Regions from separate parts of the Homo sapiens genome. Here regions 1 and 3 are each linked to region 2. Evidence: promoter capture Hi-C in human tissues and cell types (Jung and others, 2019). All regions are on one chromosome and are shown on one strand. The core of a region is centred on a gene start or on the middle of the fragment in contact, and the rest is flanking DNA. Distances in the headings are between cores, read along the strand shown.

Region 1 (2,700 bases), core at 164-2,663, 79 kb after region 2:
ACTGTTTACTTGTAAAACAGGAACACATTATATTAATTTCTATTTTTTCCGAACAGTATTTTTCTATAGTTCCTCTTACTAAAAATGACAGATTTTTTTTTTTTTTTTTTGGTTCTTCCCCTATCACCAGGAGGTAAAGTTTAGTGAAGTTGTGGTGTGTTGAGGTGGGAGGTTTGTCCAAATATCTCCTGTGGAAGACCCAGGTCACTACACAGGACCAAGTTTCATGTGTGTCCCTTCCCTGTGGGTTCTAAACCACAGTGCCTGCACTGGGCCTTGCTTGTTTATCTTCTTGTCAAACAGCCCTTCCATTCTGTGTTTGAATGTGGTTCTTGCTGCTTTCATATTGGGCATGCAGTGTCATGCACGACCAATGTGGGTAGACATGGAGCTGCCTGTCCAGAACCCCATCAGCACAGTCCTTCCCTGGCAGTATTTGTGGGAGGAGAAGAGCTGCAGCATGGTTGAGCAGTGGGCAGCTAAAGATCCAGTTCTCTGGAAGCAGAATTGGCTCCACTGTGGTTTGGGACCAGCGAGCTACAGCCAGTGTGCAAGGGTCTCACTGAATAGTAGGTGCCCACTTGGGACCCTAAATAGGGAGATGTTCCCCTCAGAGACCTTGCTCTCCCTGGCTTCTCTGGTAGATCCCTTGTCCTTTCCAACAGGGCACATCCACTCTGTTTACACATGCAAGAGGTAATTGCAGAGCACCGTTAGTAGACCATTGCTCTCACACTCAAATGTAACTTGAGAAGACTTACTTAGGTAGCTTGGACCAGGACCTCCCACCTTCACCTCCAGGTTAATCAGATAAGCAGTGCCCTTCCAGGGACCACCTGCTTTTGTTTCACTTTTATCTGTCTCCATCCTGAACTGAGGCGGGTAGCCCTCTGCGTGGCCCTTTCGGTGCCCTTCTCCTTTCAAATCTATGGCTGAACTCTTCTTAGAAGATTACAGGCTGGGTGCAGTGGCTCACATCTGCAATCACAGCACTTTGGGAGGCCAAGGTGGGTGGATCACTTGAGGTCAGGAGTTCGAGACCAGCCTGCCCAACGTGGTGAAACCCTGTCTCTACTAAAAATACAAAAATTAGCTGGGCATGGTGATGGGTGCCTGTGGTCCCAGCTACTTTGGAGGCTGAGGCAGGAGAGTCCTTGAACCCAGGAGGCGGTGGTTGCAGTGAGCCAAGATTGCACCACTGGACTCCAGCCTGGGTGACAGAGTGAGACTCTGTCTCAAAAAAAAAAAGAAAAAAGAAGAAGATTACGTTATTATTTTATCTGGACTAAAGTATGCTGAGTATTATGAATAAAGCTTCTATAGACATATTTGTGCATGTCTCTTTGGTGAATATTTGGACTCCTTTCTGTTGGCTCTGTACCCAGAGGTGGAATTTCTGGGTCATACAGTGCTGTTTACCTTTAGTAGACCCGACCAAACATTTTTCCAAAGTGCTTGAACCAATTTACCCTCCCACCAACCATAGATGAGAGTTCCAGTTGCTCCGAGCCCTTGTCAGTCTTTGATTTCACTTTTTCTGGTGGGTTTGTAGTAATGTCTCATTATGGCTTCAGTTTGCACTGATGAATGATATATATATATTTTTTTCTGAGACGGAGTCTCACTCTGTCCCCCAGGCTGGAGTGCAGTGGCGCAATCTGCTCACTGCAAGCTCTGCCTCCTGGGTTCATGTCATTCTCCTGCCTCAGCCTTACAAGTAGTTGGGACTACAGGCGCCTGCCACCATGCCCGACTAATTTTTGTACTTTTAGTAGAGACAGGGTTTCACCGTGTTAGCCAAGATGGTCTCGATCTCCTGACCTCATGATCCGCCCACCTCAGCCTCCCAAACTGCTGGGATTACAGGCGTGAGCCACCGCACCTGGCCCGATACTGGGTATTTTTTTTTTTTTACAAGTTTAATAGACATTTGGATAGCGTTTGTTAATATTCAAATCTTTTGCCTATTTTTTTGTTATTTCTTTTTATTGACTTGTGGAGTTTCAAAAATAAATATTTTTAACAGGACTACTTTGTCAGTTATATATATGTATTACAAACATCTCCCAGTCTTTGGCTTATCTATTCATTTTCTTAGTGATGTCTTTGGATAAAGGACATTAATAAAGTTCTTTTTTTTTCTTTAGTGATTAATGCGTTTATGCCCTGTTTATAAATTCTTGCTCTCCCCAAGGTCATGAAGACTTTTTTTATGTTTTCTTATGGAAGACTGACTGTTTTACCCTCCCAACTTAAGGCCTATAATCCATTTTGAATTAATTTTTGCATGAAGTATAAGTTAGGGGTAAAAGTTAATTTTTTCCAAATAGATATCCAATTGCTCTAGTATCATTTATTGCAAGACAATTTTCCCTCATGAATAGCAATGGAACGTTTGTTGAAAAACATAGCAGCTTTATTCATAATAGCCCCAAACTGAAAACAACCCAATGTCCCTGAATGGATAAACAAATTGTGGCACATCCGCATAATGGAATACTTCTCAGCAATCAGAAGAACGAATTATTCTTGAATGAAGAATGAATAGATTATTGATGCACAACAATACGAAAGAATCTCAAAAACATTATGTTGAAGAAAGGTTGACAGAGATAAAAGAATGCATACTCGTTGGTCCATTTATATGAGGAAAAACTAATGTGTGTTGATAAAAGTCAGAACAGGCCAGGCAGGTGGCTC
Region 2 (2,700 bases), core at 54-2,553:
TGGAAAAGTTTGGGTTGGATCCTGTCTCACAACCAGAGACAAGCCCCCACCCCCGCAGCTTGCTCTGCCCAGAGTGTGGTTCAGTTGACATACTGACAGCCTCCAACCCAGCCCCAGGGTTGGAAAGGGCTCCTGCTCCACCAGCATTGGCTTCGTTTGAAGAGGAACCCACAGACGGAAAAACCGCTCGTGGTCGTGTGTCCTCAACTCCCCTCCCCTTTCTTCCTTGAGAAATGCCCCTTCTTGGTTGGACACCCGTGTGTTCAGGGCACTGCTCTCCTCTCCCCTGCTGGCAGTTCAGTAGCTCTGTCCCAGGTTCTGCCACTCTCCCCTGGGCAGACTCTTCAGGCACTCTGGTCCCTGGAGTAAGCCAAGTGGCCAAGGATGGACTATCTAGCCTCGGCTTAGGACCCGCTGTGTCCCTGACATAGTGTCCATATGATTTCATTTATTCTTCCAGACCCCGCGAAGGCCTTTTCCCTCTCAGCTGACAGACGGCAGGCCAAGGCTCAGGAAGGTGAAGCACACCTTCCAGCTCAAAAGTAGCACCTCGGGGATTTGAACCCACATTCCCTTGACTCTGAAGCTGCTACTCTGTCAACCATGGGTCTTTCCAGACCCTAGGATTTAAAATCACCTAGGTGTTTGGAGAAAAGGCTCCCTTGTTCCTTCATCCTGGCGGACTAGGAGACAAGTGCCCCTCCTCACGTGTTCCTTTGCCCCATTCACTGAGTCTGCAACAGCCAAAAAGTTTGCTCAACTCCACCGCGGACGCAGCCGGTGGATGTGCTGCGCCCCCGGCACACATAGCTCTAGGGCGGAGACCAAGGCAGTGCAGCCCCCAGCCCCGGGGCGTGCAGTCTCAGTCCCGTTCCTGGCTCGCCGGGCGCCCTGGGAGAGCCTCGCTCTGGAGGGAAGGAGACAGTTACCTTGAAGAGTTGGACTCCCTTCTCCAAGAACTTCAGTCCCACACACCTGGCGAGGCAGCTGGGGGCTCCTGGGGCCGGGAGGCCCGGGTCTCGCTGCGTAGCGAGGGAGACGCTCTGCGCGGGCGCTGCGCACCCCTCCTCCTGCCGGCGTCCTGTCCGCAGGTCCCCTCGGGCTGTGGCCGCAGCGGCAACTGCTGGGTTGCGGAGTCCTGGCTGGCTGAGGGAATGGACACTGAAAGGTGCCCGGAGACCCTGGCACCCGCGTCAGACGCCGGCCGGCGAGGGTGCTGAGAGAGAGAGACCTTGAGCAGCGCTGCGCGCGTCCTCAGCTCTGCGAGCCCCCTCTGGAGCGGCGGGGAGGTAGGTGGGCGGGCGGGCGGGCATGGCGCGCTGTGACACATACATAGGGACGGGCGGGGGAGGGGAGGGCCCGTGAGGGGTGGGGGCGGGAGGGGGCGAGCGCAAAGGGAAACCCCACCCCCAGGGACCGAGGGGCGGCCGACAGGGGGAGGGGAAGGCAGAGGCGTCTGGAGCGCGCTGGACCCTGGCTCCGGACCGGCGCGCCGATGGGGAAGCCGGCCTGCGCTCAGGGCGGGAGAGGAGCGCTCCCCGGGGCGGCGCGGACCCGGCAGCTCCGGGGCTGGCGGGAGGAAGGCGGCGCGAGAAGGGCTGGAGGGCCCGCATCTGCATTGCGGTCGGCAGCTCCGCAGTCGGAGGGGCCCAGGAGGGCTGCACCCTCAGAGAATCCCCAAGTGCCCGGACTCTGAGGCCGCCGCGGCGGGACAGGGCTCCCGGGCGCCCGGCGGGGTTCTGCAGCTGAGGCTGGCCACGACGCGATCTAAGGAGGGTGCAGCCCGCTACTGTCGGCCACGATTTGGAACGACCCTCACCGAGGAGCTGGCTGAAAGTTTTTTTGGGGGTGGCGTACACCGGGATGGCAGGGGATGGTGGAGAGGGGGAGGTAAGGCGTCAGCGGGGAGGCTCACGGGGAGCTGCGAGTCTCTGGGTCTTCAAATTCCCCGGGAGAGACCAAGGACATCTCATATGAAGCAGGAATTCTCCAGTGTCTCTACAGTACTCTTTAATACCGTTTTCAGGAAAAGGAGAAAAAGAACTAGCAGCTTTTGAATCCCTCCTATGAGCCCGTTGTGTAACATACATTAACATTTCATTTAATTTTTCCAAAGAGCCCAACAAGGTAAATATGGCAACTTCCCACCTGCCCCTAACCAAAGATGTGAAAACTGAGGCTCAGAAAGTGGTGGAGATCCCTCTTGAAGGTGGGACTGAGTTCGAGTCCCAGGTCTTGTGCTCTCTGCTACACAGGCTGCTGGTTGAGCCACAGCACCTTCGGAGGACTCAAGCTGGCTGGTGACCTTCAGAGTTCTTGTGGAGGAAGCTGGTGGTGCTTCACACCAGGATGTGGTGGCCACAGTCAGGATGGTGGTGGAAGCTTCCTGACCCTCTCATTGGGCAAGAAGAGGAAGAAGTGGAATCTTTCGGGACTCCCCACTACAGAGATAATAGACCACACTTTAATCAGTTCCTTGATGAAAAGGAACTGAAGTGCCTCGGTTTCCCCAGGGCGACTCCACTGGAATTATGTGGTTATTTTACTGGCCATCTCTGCCTGGGGGCGGGACTGGCCCTGGCCCAGCACATGCTCTGTGAGCCGCCTGTCTCTCCCCTGTCCAGGGCAGTGAAGCCCCGTCGGAGGGAGCATAGTGCCCACTCTATCCACCCACCTCTCAGAGCAATGGCTAAAGTGTTC
Region 3 (2,802 bases), core at 140-2,639, 110 kb after region 2:
CAATTGGGGTCACAGAAGAGGGAAAAGGCACTCCCTGTTTGCTGGTCCTTATTCTGCAGGAAACTCCATGTTTCTCACCCATCTACAGGGGCCATTTCTCCACCTCACACAAGGATTGTGGCCCCTCATCTCTTCTGCCTCACGGTCATTGTGAAGTTAAAATGGGCAACTCAGTTCTTAGGTTGGACCTACTGACAACAGACATATGACCTGGTTACAGTAAAAGTGTGTTTGCTACCACAGTGAGTGACTAGAGATAAAAAATTATAAAAAGAAAAAAAAGAGAGTGTTGGAGCTCAAGGTCCCCTTCTCACTTTCTGGAACATCCCTGATTGGAATCTGCCACTTTCCAATACTGGGAGAAACTCTTGTTACTTTCCTGATTACAACTCCATAATGGCTTCCCACTAAGTCCCAGATGCTTACTGCAGTATATCAGGCCGGGATGCCCTGTCCCTGACAGATTCTTTGTCTTGATGGCTCCCTCTCTTTGTCTACACAGACAAGACTCACTTCTCCCTGCCCCTTGCTGCTTGTTGTGGCAAGTTACCCCCGACCCTCCAGCAGGCCCTGGGTCAGGAAGGAAACTCTCACTTGTTCAGGGTGCACTCCCCAGACCACAGTCAACTCTCTAGAAAGGGTTTTAGTCTGCATGTTGGAGAATGCAATAGCAATCCACCTTCCCAAAGGTTTCAATAGTCACTTTCCATGTAGGGTCATACAATGGGGTTCCCAAACTACTTCAGTCATATAAACAAAAGGGGACCATGATGATGAATATCGGGTGTCACTGTTAGGACTCAGACGTGTCAGCCGTGCCCCAAGGGGATGCTGTTGCCTATTTGGAAGCCTCTGGCACTGGGGCAGTACTGCAAATGTGAGCCCTGAGAGTGAGATAAGTTTACTCACCTGTTTACCTACACCTAAGATATATGTTTTGCAGATAATTTTATCCGGTCTCTGGCTCACTTATTCATCTTCTTAGAAGTGTCTTTTGCCCGGGCGCTGTGGCTCATGCCTATAATCCCAGCGCCTTTGGAGGCCGAGGCGGTCAGATCACTTGAGGTCAGGAGTTCAAGACCAGCCTGACCAGCATGGCAAAACCCTGTCTCTACTAAACATACAAAAATTATCCGGGCGTGGTGGCACGCACCTGTAATCCCAGCTACTCAAGAGGCTGAGGTGGGAGGATCGCTTGAGCCAGGAGGCAGAGGTTGCAGTGAGCTTAGATCACACCACTGTACTCCAGCCTGGGCAATAGAGTGAGACTCTGTCTTAATTTAAAAAAAAGTATCTTTTTGTGAGCAGAAGCTTTTAATTTTAATGAAATATAATGTATCTTTTTTTTCTGTTAGGGTTATTGCTGTCTGTGTCCTCTGCCTACTCTCAAATCATGAATATATTCTTGTGTATTTCTTCTGGAAATTTTATAATTTTAACATTTACATTTAGGACTGTAATCCGTCTTGAACTAATTTGTGTGCATGGTATGTGGTATGGGTCAAGGTTTATTTTTTCGCCACATGGATATTCAGTTCCAGCAACATTTGTTGAAAAGACTCGTCTTTCCTCACTGGATTGCATGGACAACTTTGTTGAAAATCAATTGACTACATAAGTGTGAGTCCTGTCCAATACTGTTTCATTATGATTGCAGAATGACGGAAAGATATGACTGTAATAGCAATTCTCTATAGAAACTGTCTAAACACACACTTTCAATGGACAACATGTACAGTTTTGTAATTATTTTCTTTGTTCGTGTTATTTTTGTTCTGGTTTTATTTATTGAAATGTAATTTTTTTTGAGACAGGGTCTCACTCTGTCACCCAGCTGGAGTGCAGTGGCATGATCATAGCTCACTGCAGCCTCAACCTCCCAGGCTCAGGGATCCTCCCACTTCACCCTCCCTAGTAGCTGGGACTACAGATGGGTGCCACCATACCTGGCTAATTTTTGTACTTTTTGTAGAAACAGGGTTTCACCATGTTGCTCAGGCTGGTCTCAAATTCCTGGGCCCAAGAAATCTGCCCTCCTCAGCCTCCCAAAGTGCTGGGATATCAGGCGTGTGCCACCGTACCCAGCCAGAAATGTATTTCTTATGTTAATTAAATCTAATAAAAATCTAGATTTGTATTTCATGTCTTTATTTTTTCTAGTAATTCGTTTTTGTGTTATTTTAAGAAAGTATAGGTTTATGACAGACGAAAAACAAGCAAAACCCTGATCCTTCACCACAGACAGTTTGAGAAGCTCTGCTCTGTATCCTACCAGGCCTGCAGGATATTTCGATATTAACAAGCATTAAGTATAAAGGAATTCCAGAGAAAAATACTTCTGAGAAACATTGGGCTAAAAAGTTAAGCAGGTTTTTATATTGCAGGACTCCCTGGGATCTCAAATGCATTATCAAATTACCGAAAGGAGAATATAGCAGGATGTGTTTCTCAAACTTATATGATCAGGGAACTCTTTCTTCATGGAGCCTCTTGAGAGACCAGTGTTCCATGGAACAACATTTGAGAACCATCAATCCACAACATCCCTCATGAGTAGTCACCAGCATTGGCTTGGAAGGCTCCAACAACATTATCTTGCATGGCAGCCCATCTCGTTTTCAGGCAACTTTCATCCCTGGGGGGTGCTCGTCCTCTCTGGAGTGGCACAGAAGCAAACCCAATCTGTTTTATACTGGAGAGTCCTCTGCAGAGCTTGGGTCTCCTCCTATCACATTCTCTAGCCTAAGTGTCTCTGCATTAAGCTAGGTGCTCCCTTTAAGAGCAGGAGCTGGGCTTGGCTTG

The links. The method cuts DNA at HindIII sites, captures the fragments that hold promoters and counts their contacts. A contact is called where the count stands out against the background at its distance.
Region 1: a contact is called between a fragment that was not itself captured here and the fragment with the promoter of ACAN in region 2, in 3 of the 25 tissues and cell types used here (IMR-90 fibroblasts, aorta and liver).
Region 3: a fragment that was not itself captured here is called in contact with the fragment with the promoter of ACAN in region 2 in 4 of the 25 tissues and cell types used here (H1 embryonic stem cells, aorta, bladder and 1 more).

The regions. Positions count from the first base shown.
Region 1 is chr15:88,723,142-88,725,841 of GRCh38, reverse strand. No RefSeq gene overlaps it. Among named protein-coding and RNA genes, the nearest start is that of ACAN, 79 kb to the left of the region's middle. The HindIII fragment of the contact is 6,960 bases long and covers 1-2,700 here.
Region 2 is chr15:88,802,039-88,804,738 of GRCh38, reverse strand. It overlaps ACAN (aggrecan), which reads right to left and starts at 1,303. Exons shown (of 19, transcript NM_001369268.1): 1 at 930-1,303. It overlaps LOC105370960 (a long non-coding RNA gene), which reads left to right and starts at 1,221. Exons shown (of 3, transcript XR_001751648.1): 1 at 1,221-1,289. The HindIII fragment of the contact is 7,348 bases long and covers 1-2,700 here.
Region 3 is chr15:88,691,228-88,694,029 of GRCh38, reverse strand. No RefSeq gene overlaps it. Among named protein-coding and RNA genes, the nearest start is that of ISG20, 54 kb to the right of the region's middle. The HindIII fragment of the contact is 5,407 bases long and covers 1-2,802 here.